Regions from separate parts of the Homo sapiens genome. Here region 1 is linked to region 2. Evidence: promoter capture Hi-C in 16 types of primary human blood cells and fetal thymus (Javierre and others, 2016). All regions are on one chromosome and are shown on one strand. Each heading gives the region's core, a stretch centred on a gene start or on the middle of the fragment in contact. The rest is flanking DNA. Distances are from core to core; before and after follow the strand shown.

Region 1 (6,998 bases), core at 1,316-3,815, 1.1 Mb before region 2:
CTTCACCTTCTTTCTTCAATTAGCCACTCGAATATGAATCACAGCAGGGAACAAGTCACCCTCTGGCAGGGCCAGGAGGTTCTGGACGCTCTGTGCACATACGTGCATTGTATTTACACAAAACAGATTTCCCCTCATCAAACCCTCTGCAACTTCCTGAGTCCGGGAAATGAAACAATCTGGCTGGTCTAGCCTAACATTTGTGAGAATCTTAATGAAACCACATCAGAGACCTGTAGGTGAAAGGCTGACTTAAGCAGGAGAGATTCTGGAATGGTTGGTGACTGCTGATGGCTGGTTGGGGGGTGGGGAATGGCAGCAGCTAAGAAAAGTCACAAGGGCGCTTTCTGGGACATGTCCTAAGTACCATCTCTACTCAGCATCCTGAATTCCCAGGCCCAGAGTTTCTCAGCCTCTGCTACCCTTCTCCTCCGCTCAGGTGTGGTGTTGTGGCCTCTATTTACCGACACCACATGCCCCACGCTGGCAGGACTGAGGCGGAAGCCTGCAGCCCGACGGACGGAGGGAGAAACAGCCAACTCGCGGGCTGGAGAGGGCAAAGGTCCAAAAACAGCCTAGGAGCGGAGCAGGGAAACGAGAAGGTAGAAGGTTCGGGGAAGGGGAGGGGGGCCCAGAGGTGCAGAGAACCCGTCCTTTGTGTAAAACTAACCTGGAAGACAATCTCCTCCCGATAAACCGGCCCAGCGGGAGAAGGGAGACCAGGAAGGGGGAGCCGGCCTGGAAGAACAAAGATCAAAATCCGTCGGGAAGCAGCGACCGGCTCCCCAGCGGGGGGCCGGAGGCCGGAGGCCGGAGTCCGGGGCCGAGCCGCGGGCGCGGCCTCTCGAGGCCCGCCCTGACTCCGCCACGCCGCGGACCACCGCCCCAGGCAGGTTGGGACGCGCGCCACATCCACACGCACACGCAGCCACACGCTCGTACACACTCACACACGCCCCGCCACGTGTAGTCACCCCGGGCCAGGGGCTCGGCGGCTGCCGAGTTGAGAAGGGCGGTGCCGACGTCCCCGCCTCCAGGCGCCGCGGAAGGGGAGGCAGCCCACCCTGCAGCCGAGCCCAGGAGACCCCCGCCCCCACCCCTCGTTACCTGAACCACGGAGACCCAACTCGGCCGGCAGCTGACGGCAGGAAACGGACCGTCCCAGGGAATCACGTCGGCAGCCAAAGGTGGCAGCGACTTGTCCTCCCCGGGCCGGGAGGCTGTCTCCTCCTGACAAGGGGCCCCAGTGGTCGGGGCCCTAAACCAGCTGTGGCAACCGCCCACCACTGGCCAAATGGAACGCTCCTCACGTCACCAGGTCGCTCCAGTAGTTGCTCGCCCTCTATTGGCCGATCGGCCTCGGCGCCTCCGCCCCGGCCGCCCCTATCCCGAACTGCCATTGGTTTTGCCTAACGCCACTCGACGATGCCTCCGCCCACTCCTCCACCCATCTCCCTGCTGCATGCCCACCTGCCAAGCCACTGCCAGCCTCTCTTTGGGGTCTGAGCGCCAGTATGTGAAGTGTTGCCTTCTATTAATATAGTTACGCAGAGACGGAGGTTAAGGGTAGTGCCGATGGGACAGCAAAGGGTGGAACCAGCCTACACACACGCGCGCGCGCGCGCACACACACACACGCGCGCGCACACACACACACAGTGAGATGCTGAAGCAACACTAGCTCACAGATCCGGGTGCTCACCCCAAACTAGGTCTGCCATGGGCCTCTCCAGCCCTGCTTGCATTTTAAAATCAACCGCAACTTGAGATTTTACTCTTTATCGGCATAAAAACAAGTCATCTGCCTCCCAAGTCTCATTCAGTAGCCAGGGACCCCATATCTGTCCCAGTCACCCTAGCCTGCATCTCTAAGTCTTTCAAATCAAAACACACAAACAAGCATAAAAAGCATGTTGTAAAGGATAAATGTCCCCAAGAACGTATTATCATTTTGCAGCACCTAAAACAACTAATTGACATTAATGGAGTTAAAGAAACTCCACTGAGGACATAAATTCTTCCAGGTAGGTAATGAAGTAAAGATTGCCAAAAAGGTTGTAAATTTTTATTCGGTTTGGAAAGCTTATGATGATTAAGGGGAGAATCCAAGGCAGAATTCCCACCCACCAACCAGATTGATTTTTTCCTTCTGCCACCCAGCTCTGCATTACTGCCACCATGAGCCACTGCTACTGATCCGAGTGAGTTGCATGCATTAAAAGTTTGAGATTGGGCTGGGCGCGGTGGCTCACGCCTGTAATCCCAGCACTTTGGGAGGCCGAGGCAGGTGGATCACCTGAGGTCAGGAGTTCAAGACCAGCCTGGCCAACATGGCAAAACCCGTCTCTACTAGAAAGACAAAAGTTAGCGGGGAGCGGTGGGACTCGCCTGTAGTCCCAGCTACCAGGGAGGCTGAGGCAGGAGGATCACTTGAACCCAGGAGGTGAAGGTTGCAGTGAGCCAAGATCATGCCACTGCACTCCAGCCTGGGCGACAGAGAGAGACCCTGTCTTAAAAAAAAAAAAAAAAAAGTTTGAGATTGAAGGGGGGAAACAATTGAGAACCACAGTATTATACTATAGGGTGACTTTAAAAGACACTAGGTCTGTTTTCACCAGTATGGCTCCTGCCTTCCAAATATAAGAGGAAATATGAGAAAAGGTTGAAGGTGGCATCTCCTTTCCAAGTGTAAGAGGAGATAAGAGAAAAGGTTGAAGATTGGAGGAGAATGCCTACATTACCAGCCTAGGTTTTCCTAAGCGTGATAAAAATTTCAAAGTTTTAGAGATTTGGTATTTGGAATTAGTACAGAAGAGACTGCCAAAGCTCTTCCTAAGGCAGTTGTATGTTAGTTGAAGGACCACATACATGGTCAAGAACTATTTTTCCTTTACAGTATATGTGTCCCACACAATATGAAACAAAAAGCTACATAATAATTACATTTGACACTTTCATGGCACCCTTCAAAATTCTTAAAGGATTTAAAAAACACTAGGTAATTCTGAGATGTGTTGTAATTAACTTGCAAAGGAAGGTTTGTCTTTATAAAGCTTCCATTGTTCCTTAGCACTCATGCTGATTATGATCAACAGTTTATTCCTCATGAAGTGTACGATCAGTATCATTGCCTCCAATTCTCCCGCTTTGAATTCTGGAGGGTGCTGGTATTGCACACACTTGGTATGGGAGGGAGAAGAACTTCCCTAAACCTCATCAGCCCTGTGGATTTCCAAGCCTATGTATATCAGATGCCCTTAGGAATAGTATGGTCACCCCAGCTGCCATCCTTCTGACTATGGAGCAGTGAAAAATAAGCCTCTGTAGCACTCAAACATATTTTGTCCATAGCTCAGGTGCAGGTGAAGCCTGAGGAGTCCTGGAATCGATGTGTCATGGTGACACATTCCTGAGCTCTGTCCCTCCCTGCTCTGGGTCACATTCCCTCTCGGACTAAGTGGCTATGTGAGTCAGGCTTGTTTTATTACAATCTGTTATTATTTATTCTCAACACTCAAAGAAAAATAAGGAAAATTTATGTGGACAAACATCCCATAGTACTTCCTCCTATGTAGTTACATCATTTTATATAATCCTTAAAGTCTTAATACACACACACAACTAAATTGTGACTATAAACTGAGACTGTTTTTTCCTATTCTTTTCTCTTCTCTTTTCAACAGACTTCCCACTTTTTACATCCAAGTCAGTGTTGGCTCTTTTGAAAAGAGGTTATAGGCCGGGCACAGTGGCTCACGTCTGTAATCCCAGCACTATGGGAGGCCAAGGCAGGCAGATCACTTGAGGACAGGAGTTTGAGACCAGCCTGGCCAACATGGTGAAACCCTATCTCTAGCCAGGCATGGTGGCAGGTGCCTGTAATCCCAGCTACTCAGGAGGCTGAGCATGAGAATCACTTGAATCTGGGAGGCGGAGGTTGCAATGAGCCCAGATCGCTCCACTGCACTCCAGCCTGGACGACAGAGCGAGATTCCATCTAAGAGAGAGAGAGAGAGAGAGAGAGGGAGAGAAAGAAAGAAAGAAAGAAAGAGAGAGAAGAAAAGGGGTTATAGTCATGTGATGAGCACTAGAAACACCACAAAAATCAAGGTATAGCCTTCCAGTTTATAAGACAGCTCCTTGTGTTATCATGTATGTTCTGGAGTATTTGTTTAAAAATACCTGTCTCCACATTTATTCTTCATGTGTGTGTGTTTGTGTGTGTGTGTGTGTGTGTGTAGGCGTGTGTAGGTGTAGGTGTAATGTGCTGTTTGATCCTGAGTGCCACCACTGGGTTGAAGCTTTCCTGTTAGTGTTGCTTCAAAGACTCTTCTGTAACCACCCGGAGACCCATTCAGTACTACATCCAGGAGCAGACATAAAGCATCAGCCCCCATCCTGCTTTTGAGCTCATGATAGCTCCTTTATTCTCTATTTTCTGTAGCCTCAAACTTGTCATGTCACTTTGCCCTCCTCCCCACACACACAGCCCTTTCCACCCCACCTCTCTGACTTGCACATCTCTTTCTGCTTTCTGGCTATAAATGCATGTGTGTGTAGAACGAATTGATGAACAAAAGAATGAACCACGGAATGCCCTACCCACGCATGATGAGCTAGTATTCTTAAGCAACATCTGTTTCTCTGAGGCCTGGGCTGCTATCACTGACATAGAAGATCCAGGATGGTAGGTAGCTCAGAAAGCACATAAGCCTTATGGCCAGACAGGCCTCGGTTCAAATCCTGGCTCTGCTACGTAATAGCTTGTATAACCTGTGGCAAGTAATTTATCCTTTCTGAGACTATTTCTTCATCTGTAAAATAAAGCTAATACCTATATCATGGAGTTATAAAGGGAATTGTGTGCTAACTGTCTGGCATGGAAGAGAGACACAGTCAATGCTGTATGTTATAATGACATCTCCATTACTGCCCCCTCCCATCTCCCTCCCTTAGCCATCCTGCTGACTGGGGTAGAGAGGTAGAAAAAATGAGACCCATTCTTCACTGTATAGAGTCCTTGTCATCCATGTACCACCACGTTTTCATAACCTCTAAATTCATCACTGAATTGAATCCTTATCTGACTGGGTTTCCCAGCCCCCTACCCCACCTGGGACTGGGGAAAGCCTGGATAGTAATCTTGTTCTAGTAGAATGGCTGATCCTTAGCCTCCTCTTCTCAAGTAAATCATTGACATTCCTGCCACATTATCTGTTTCAACAGGCAAAAGGTAAATGGGATTGCTTTCACTGAGCACCTCCTATGTTCACAGCCCTGTGCTGAGATTGTTGGCTTCTCTTGGGAACTAAGCAGCACCTTAAAGATGTCCTCGCATGGCCAGGCGCGGTGGCTCACGCTTGTAATCCCAGAACTTTGGGGGGCTGAGGCGGGTGGATCACCTGAGGTCAGCAGTTCAAGACCAGCCTGACCAACACGGCGAAACCCCGACTCTAATAAAAACACAAAAATTGGCTGGGCTTGGTGGCAGGTGCCTATAATCCCAGCTACTTGGGAGGCTGAGGCACAACAATCGCTTCCACCCGGGAGACAAAGGTTGCAGTGGGCTGAGATTGCGCCACTGCACTCCAGCCTGGGCGACAGAGCAAGACTCCGTCTCAAAAACAAACAAAAAAGATACTTTTGCATGAAAGCCAAACATGCAGAAAGCCCCCCAAAAAACAGCCTGGGATGGCCAGGAAAGTGTTCATCACAATGCAAGTGAACTGCCCAAACGCAGGTCTCTGTTTCTGCCTCAGATGCCTGGCTGCTCCCACTGGTTCCCAATTTGACTTCATCTCTGGACTGTGGATTTCTGACTCTGCCTGGGATGGCTTTAGGTCCTATGCTTGAACCCTCAACAGTAGCCCTAAGACAATCCTCTCATTAAAAGAGAATCATAACAGCAATAGAAATCATTTATTGGGGACCTCCTCTGAGCCAGGGATTGTAGTAGGTGCTTTATACATTTAGATTCTCAGATTACGGTCTAAACTTGATGTGCAAGTGACAGCATCTGATACTGACCCGGCACAGCCCTAGTCTCTGACTCTGCCCAGCTCTCTCATTCCAAGAGCTCACCTCAATCACTGTGCAGCCCAAAAATAGAACCAGTTTATCAATCAATCATGAAGTATGTATTAAGCAACAGCCATAGTTTGCTCAGCCTGTACTAGGCAATATGGGAAATACCAAGGAAGTATATGACATGATCCCAGCCTCCAAGGAACTTAAAATATTCTAGGGGCAAAAAGACTAGCACCTATGAAGTCATTAAAGATAAATACAAAACAGTGCAGAGTCAAATTCTCAACTATGCATAGCAGAGTCTCCAACTTCTTAAGGAGATCTTGCCTCAAAGGGTTGTAGCTTCTCGAATACCATTGGTAGAGGAGTAAACTGGTAAAAATCTTTCAGCAGGGCTATTTGGCGGTATCTTTTAACATTTTTGCATTACACAACCACTGACCCAACAATCCTACTTCTATCTAGAAATACTCGCACAAATGTTCAAAGATATATGTTCAAAGATGTTCACTACACACATTGCAATTGTTTGTGAATGTGCATAATTGTGTATGTGTAATTGCAAAAATTAGCAAACAAAAAAGGCCATTAACTATTGGAAATCTACATAGTACAGTACTATGCAACTATTAAAAATAATGGTATATAACATTCATACAGAAAAGAGCAGACCACTGCCTTCCTATATGTGGGAATATTTCAATGGAAATTTTACATTAAAATATTTTCTTGAGGCCGGGCACACTAGCTCACGCCTGTAATCCCAGCACTTTGGGAGGCCGAGGCGCGTGGATTGCTTGGGGCCGGGAGTTTGAGACCAGCCTGGCCAACATGGTGAAACCCCGTCTCTACTAAAAATACAAAAATTAGCCAGGTGTGGTGGTGCGCACCTGTAGTCCCAGCTACTCGGGAGGCTGAGGCAGGGGAATCACTTGAATCTAGGAGGCGGAGGTTGCAGTGAGCCGAGATTG
Region 2 (6,835 bases), core at 1,268-3,767:
TCAAGACCTATCTCATGTCACCTCCTCATGGAAGCCTTCTCCCCGAGTCTCCCTTACAGTGAGTCACACCTTCCTTTATCCCTCCATAGCATTTTGTACCTGTCTCTGTTATACTACACACTACAGTATCTCAGAACTGTGGGCATCCAGCTCCCCAGCTAGACCCCAGGAAGAGTTCACACCTTGTACTTCATTGTTTCTCCAACACTTCACGTGGGCAGAGGTCATGAAAGAGATCTAGTGTCCCAGGTAACTTCTTAAAATGCTAAAATAAAATACATCCAAAGTGCTATCAAGGTCCAAATAGCTTAGAGGTATGATATGTGTTATAAAGAGAATCATCTAATTCAGAAATAGCCGTACTGACTATGGTTTTGGCAGACACAATTAGCTACAGTTGCAATGACAGTTAATTTGGTTTTGGCAGCTACTTTACAGCAAATACATTCTGACATAGAAATTTTAAGTGAATCATTTGGGTTTTGGCCAGGATGATGAACTATACCTATCTCTCCTTACCACAACTGGAAAGTCAAGAACAAGAAAGAACATTGGGAGCAGCAAACCATGTTGAACAGAGCATGGGCTTTGGAGTCAGAAATCTGTACACCCAAACCTCAACTCAACTTATAATCTATGTGACTTTAAGTAGATTGTTTAACTTCTGTGCATTTTAGTGTTTTCTTCTAGAAAAAGAAACAGGAATAATAGTACCTACTTCATAACACTCAAGATAATGCAACAAAGTATTTATGATGATGACTAGGACATTATGTGGGTTCAATAAATAGCAGTCATTATTGTCACCCAATGAGATGACTACAGTTCAGATAATGTGATGCACGGGGACAGCAAATGCATTTCTTAAGAAAATATATCGATGTCTCTAGGCTTTAAAGTTGACAGCTATAGACTGTAGCTAAGAATAGCTACAAACAAAACATCTGCAAGACAAGCTTCTTCTTGGATTTAAACTCACACCTGGAACATACCATCACACTTCTTTGTGTTCTCCAAGAATTGATCTCAAATCAGGTTCCCTAGGATGAAAAGAAAAATCATCCAATCTTAATTTTTGCCTTCAATTTTATTTGATACAGAATAATATCCAAACTATGTGTATGTTTCAAAGTATCATGTTATTATGACCCCAAGCTTCTCCACCCTATTTATTTCCCAGTATATTTGTGCTGATATCTTTTATTCCAATCAGGCAAGCCCACCTGTCTCACAGTGCTCCCTCTTCTGTTTACCCTTCTCAAAGTCCAATCTCAGTAGCAGGAAGCATTTTCTCCCTCCTCTTTGACAACTTCAAATCCCCTGTACTCTGCTGGAGCCCAGATTAAAATTCACCTCCTTCACAAAGCCTGAAAGCCGGATGAGGGCTTCAGCACTTCCCGGGTTAGGCTTGAACTTCCATAGATGAACTCACCACCCCCATCAGTATGCTCTTCCACTGACCCCTCTTAGCGTTTTTTGCACACGTTTGTAATAATACAATGATTAATATGGTCTGTTTCACACGGTCTACTTTATTCTGTAGAATAAAGGTGTGCCCCCTAAATGTTTGTCAACATTAGTGCTATCAGTCTTTGCTGGAAACCCCTAAAGCGCTGGATTTTTATAACCAGTCTAACTTGCCTTTTACTCTCACCAGAACCCTGCACTGAACCTTAAACACACATTTCTCAAAAGCAAGATTCCTTCCCTCTTTTGCTTCCCATCCCTTCTAGAAATTGAGGGGAAACTCTCCCCACTTCAAAGACCTGGTGGGGGAAGTGGCAGGTGGCTGAGGGGCCAGTAAAGAGATGGCGATCAATTAAGGAGGCAAAAAGAGAAAGTTTGAAAAAAAAAAGTCACGCCCTGAGCGTGGCAAGGAATTCCCATGCCCCAAAGAAAATGGGGAGTGTAGCGCAGGGAGGGTTATGTGCCCAAACCTGAAATACAAATTGAGGGAAAAGAGGAAAGAGATCACCCAATTCCTGCGGTAAGAATTAGAGTCCAGTCACCGCCTAGGCAAAACCCTGGACGCAAACCCCAACTTCGGACCTCTGAGGAGGCACAGAGCCAGGGGGAGGGGGGCGGCGTCGTGGGAAAAAAAAAAAGGGGCGGGCGAGTTGGACCAAAAAAAAAAAAAAAAAAGAGCAAAGACAGCGCGCTCCCGGGCTCAAGAGAACTGGCGCCTAGAGCTCAAAAGCCCACCCCCGACTCCCAGTCCCGATACCCCCTCCCCTGCAGAGGTGGAGCTGGGTGGAGTTAGGCGCTGAGGACCGCGGCCCCGGAAGCACCCTCCTCCCTAGGCCCCCTCAGTCCCACAGTCCCCAGCCACGGCCACCGGGGCTTTCTGCCTCTCTGACCTCCAGCTCCCCGGCTACCGAAGCGCTAGTCCTTATACAGCCGCGGAAAATCGGGCCGGCGCGGCAGTTCCTGGGCTCGTAGTGCCCTCGCGGCGCCCCACGCCGCGCCACTCTCTTCCGAAATGCCCGCCTCGCGCTTCCAGGCCTAGACCCGGCACTCTGGCCCAAGGCTGGACTCTCACACACAGGGTGCCCACTGCGGCGTCTCCTATTGGCTACTGGTCACCGGGGAAGCCGGAGGCCCGAGCCCATGGCTTCATGGGAAATGTAGTTTGAGGTCGCTGGAGGCTGTTCTTCCTGGGGGTAACTCGTGTTGACATTGGCAGACAGACACAAGTGAGGACCGAGAATTATGGGAGATGGAGTTGCGGGACACTTATTTCTCTATACGCACAATTCTTCCCCTCCCCTTCCGATTGTCCCCAGCGTTCAGACGGGGAAGGGTATTCTGGGTATTGTAGTTTGGGTGCACTGTCTAGAGAATCTCTCTTGGGGTTATGGGTTTGTGCTTGTGGGGACAGACGAAGGCTCTAGATTTATTTTCATGTCGGTTAAGCTCTTAGCATTTTGCGGGAAGCACTTTCTATCGTGATTTGAAATTGTTATTGAGTTTTAAGTGTTTTTCAAAAGATGATGTTTATTCTTTGGTAAGCTTAGAATTTTAATTGAGAGTTATAGTCCTTTAAAATTGTTAAAGTGTGTTCCTTGTGAACCACCTGCATTAAAATCACTTGAAAGGTATGGAAGAATGTATATATTTTTTTCTAATTGGAAATTATAGTTCCCCCTGGAAACAGTGTCATAAATAGGCATAGAAATGTGATCTACACCAGCCCAGAAGAAGCCTATTTAATCCATAATGAAGCTATGTTGTTGCCATGAAAAACAGTGGCCACATAAACTGCTATAAATAACAATTTAGAACAGATAGACAATACAACTTAAGTACAAACGAGTAACTATATGTGTCTTTAAGAAACTTAACCTTTTGAGTAAAAATATGTTACAAGAGCTGGATAAAGACATAGGTGGGGAATGCCAAGCACTTCCAAGTGACTTAAAGGTTGAGGAAAATGGTTGTTTATTAGGGCTAATTTCACTCCCAACTTTTGACCTTTTTTTTTCTCTGTTAGAGATGAATCCTTGTAGCCTTGTTACAGTTGAATTACTACAACTTCTTGATGAGGACAACTTTTCGACTCACGAGTAAAATGAAGGGAAAGACAGGGGAATTGCATTTTGCTGAGGTAATTGCCCAATATTTTAAAAAGATAAGTGAAGGAGGAAGACGATTTAATAAATTCAACCATTTATTCAGCATAGTGCTTTGTGCAAAGCTCTGGGCTAGGCACTGTTGCCACAGAATTGGAAAAATAGTCCCTACCCTCAAGTAGCTCAAAATCCAGGTGAGGGGAGTTGTAGTAGAGGAGAATCTGGGGGGAGGAATAGATGAGTATACAATGTGCAAAATGCTGTAAAGAAGTCTACATAGGGTTCTATAGGAACATAGAGGAGGAAGAACTTGTTCTACTTCTGGAGAACTGGTTGAAGAACCAGTAAAATATTTGTCAGATTTGGGGCAGGGAGGTCAACCATATTCTATACAAAGCATATGCAAAGGCATAAAGGCATGAAAGAGTGCAGAGAACAATAGCAAAAGTTCCATATTGCAGAGACTAGATCAGGCAGCAACAAGGGGTCATATCAATTAGTTCATAATTTAACTTGAAAGTGGGAGAGAACCATCAGAGGAATTTTTGTGCTTATATAGTGTTTATTTTTTAAAGCATATACACATAGAACATACTGGGAACACATAGCTAGGGTATTATGGGGAATCATTCTGGAGGGTGGTAATTGAATTGCTATATTATGTTTTAATACTTTTTATACTTTTAAATTCCTCCAGGAAAATAATTTGCTTTTTTAAAAAAAGAAAAATCGGCTGGGTGCCGGGGCTCATGCCTGTAACCCTAGCACTTTGGGACACCAAGTTGGGAGGATTGCTTGAGCCCAGGAGTTCGAGACCAGCTTGGGCAACATAATGAGACCTTGTCTCTACAAAAAATCAAGAAAATTAGCCAGGCATAGTGGCGCATGCCTGTAGTCCCAGCTACTCAGGAAGCTGAAGCAGGAGGATCCCTTGAGCTTGGAAAGTTAGGGCTGCAGTCAGCCGATATTGTACCACTACACTCGAGTGTAGTGGGTGATAGAGCAAGACTCTGTCTCAAAAAAAATTAAAAAATTAAAAAAAGAAAGAAAAAAGAGAAAAAGAAAAATCACCTCATTTCAGCCATAAAAAGGAGTGAAACAAGGCATTTTCAGTATTATGGCCACCAGAAAAACATTGTGTGAATCAAATGCAGAATTTCTTTTCTCAGCTTTGTCTCCTTTCTTTTTATCTTTTTTTCCATGACTCTTTACTTTGATTTGATCATTGATTTCAAAGTATTTGCAGAGCACCTACTATGTTCCATACACTATGACAGGTTTTGGGTTTTAATGGTGAGTTAAAACATGGGTTCCTGTTCATCAAAGTATTTCTAGCAGGAAATGGAATAATCAGATGGAGTTGGTAGATGTGGAAAGTGAGAGACGGGGAGGAGTCCATTACGACTCCCAAGTTCTGACTTGGAAGACTAAGTGTATGGTAGTACCATTCACTGAGATATTGAACCTAGAAAGAATAGCAAGTTTTGTGAAGAATAGGAGGAAATCAGTTTTGAACATTTAAAATTTGAAGAGTCTGTGGAACTTTTGGTTGGAGATGCCTGATAGGCTGCTGAGAAATGCCGGTCGGAAGCTTGGGAGAGAGGTCTTGCTTGGAACTAAACATTTGGGAGACATTAGTATAATATAGAGGGCAATTAAATAAGTGAAAAATTGTTTAAACTTTACTTAGAGAGTATTTTTTTTTTTGAGACGGTTTCTTACCCTGTTGCCTAGGCTGGAGTGCAGTGGCACAATCTCGGCTCACTGCAACCTCTGCCTCCTGGGTTCAAGTGATTCTCCTGCCTCAGCCTCCCGAGTAGCTGGGATTACAGGTGCCTGCCACCACAGCTGGCTATTTTTTTTTTTATTTTTAGTAGAGATGGGGCTTCACTGTGTTGCCCAGGCTGGTCTCGAACTCCTGACGTCAAGTGATCCACCCGCCTCAGCCTCCCAAAGTGCTGGGATTACAGGCGTGAGCCACTGTGCCCAGCCAATTTAGAGAGTATTTAGAATAATAGTTTTTAAAAAGACAAAGATTATGGAATCCTGGAAAATAATGATATTCAAGTAGCAAGTAGAAGAAGAGATGCCTTCCAAGGAAGCTGAGAGGGAATGCCCAAACAGATGAACCAAGAGAAAACAAAGTAGAATTACTGGCATATATTACAGAGAGGTCAAGTAGCAGGACAGAATAGTAAGAAGAAATTACTCCTTCATCAATATAACAAGTTTTTATTGAGTACCTATAATGTGCCAGACATTATTCTAGATGCTGGGAATAGAGAAGTGGAAAACACATACAACATCCCTTCCCTTTGGAGGCTATATTCTGTTAGGAAGAAGCCATCAACAAACAAGATAAATAATTAAAATACATAGCTGTGATAAGTAATATTTCTTACTGTGTATGTCACAGCTGTGTATGGCTATTTCTGTATGGTGATATAAATACACACACACACACATATATATATCTCCAATAAGCCATATGGAAATTTTATATATAATATATAAAACATATCTATATCTCCAATAAGCCATACAGAAATTTTATATATAATATATATTATATATAAGCACAAATGTATACATATATTTGTATGTGTATATACAAACGTGATACTCTTTGGTCTGTTGTTATATAATAAGATGAATTTGTGAAATACTGGCCCAGGGTCAAACAGTCTGGCTGGATTCAGAGAACAATTAGGAAGTCAAGGTTAGAGCTGTATCCAGAGCCAGTGTAGAGCCCAGGTCAAGGCCAGGGTTCATGTGTATAATGTGGAATGTATTTAGCTTCAATCTTTTCTCAGGTTAAGATTTAGTAAGTCTGTAGCTGTTTTTACAGGCCATTGTGGATTCAGGATCAGAAGACCATCAAACCAAGCTTAGGGTTAAGCCTGATAGCAATATTAGGCCCCAGATTTAGAGCCATGGTTCAGTCTGTGTCACAGATTAAAGTGCATTTCTGACCACTCTGGACTAACAGCAGCCTCAGGGTGTTAAAGCTCACTCTGAGGCTGCTGTAAGTCTAGAGTGGCCTGGTTTATGAAGTCAAGGTGCAAGATTTGGGTTCAAATTTTGGCCAGAATTAGGATTTAGTCTGTGTGTAGGAAGAGGCCTCATTCTAAAATTAGAGTTAGGGCTCAGTCTGTGGACCAGACTTAGACCACACCCAAGGTTAGGGCTCAGCTCAATGTTTGACTTTAGTTTTTGATCAATGTTGGAATCACTTTCATTTCTAGACTTGAAAGTCAATAAAGGCC

Evidence for each region. Contacts are between HindIII fragments. The CHiCAGO score rates a contact against its expected background, and 5 or more counts as called.
Region 1: a fragment that was not itself captured here is called in contact with the fragment with the promoter of ENOX2 in region 2 in 1 of 17 cell types (total CD8 T cells); the score reaches 5.8 in total CD8 T cells.

The regions. Positions count from the first base shown.
Region 1 is chrX:129,842,589-129,849,586 of GRCh38, forward strand. ZDHHC9 (zDHHC palmitoyltransferase 9) reads right to left here and starts at 1,298. Exons shown (of 11, transcript NM_016032.4): 1 at 1,108-1,298; 2 at 671-738. RefSeq lists an enhancer at 6,919-6,998. The HindIII fragment of the contact is 971 bases long and covers 2,081-3,051 here.
Region 2 is chrX:130,900,692-130,907,526 of GRCh38, forward strand. ENOX2 (ecto-NOX disulfide-thiol exchanger 2) reads right to left here and starts at 2,518. Exons shown (of 15, transcript NM_006375.4): 1 at 2,358-2,518; 2 at 993-1,040. RefSeq lists enhancers at 1,884-2,403, 2,264-2,533, 2,404-2,923, 2,544-2,733. The HindIII fragment of the contact is 1,854 bases long and covers 1,154-3,007 here.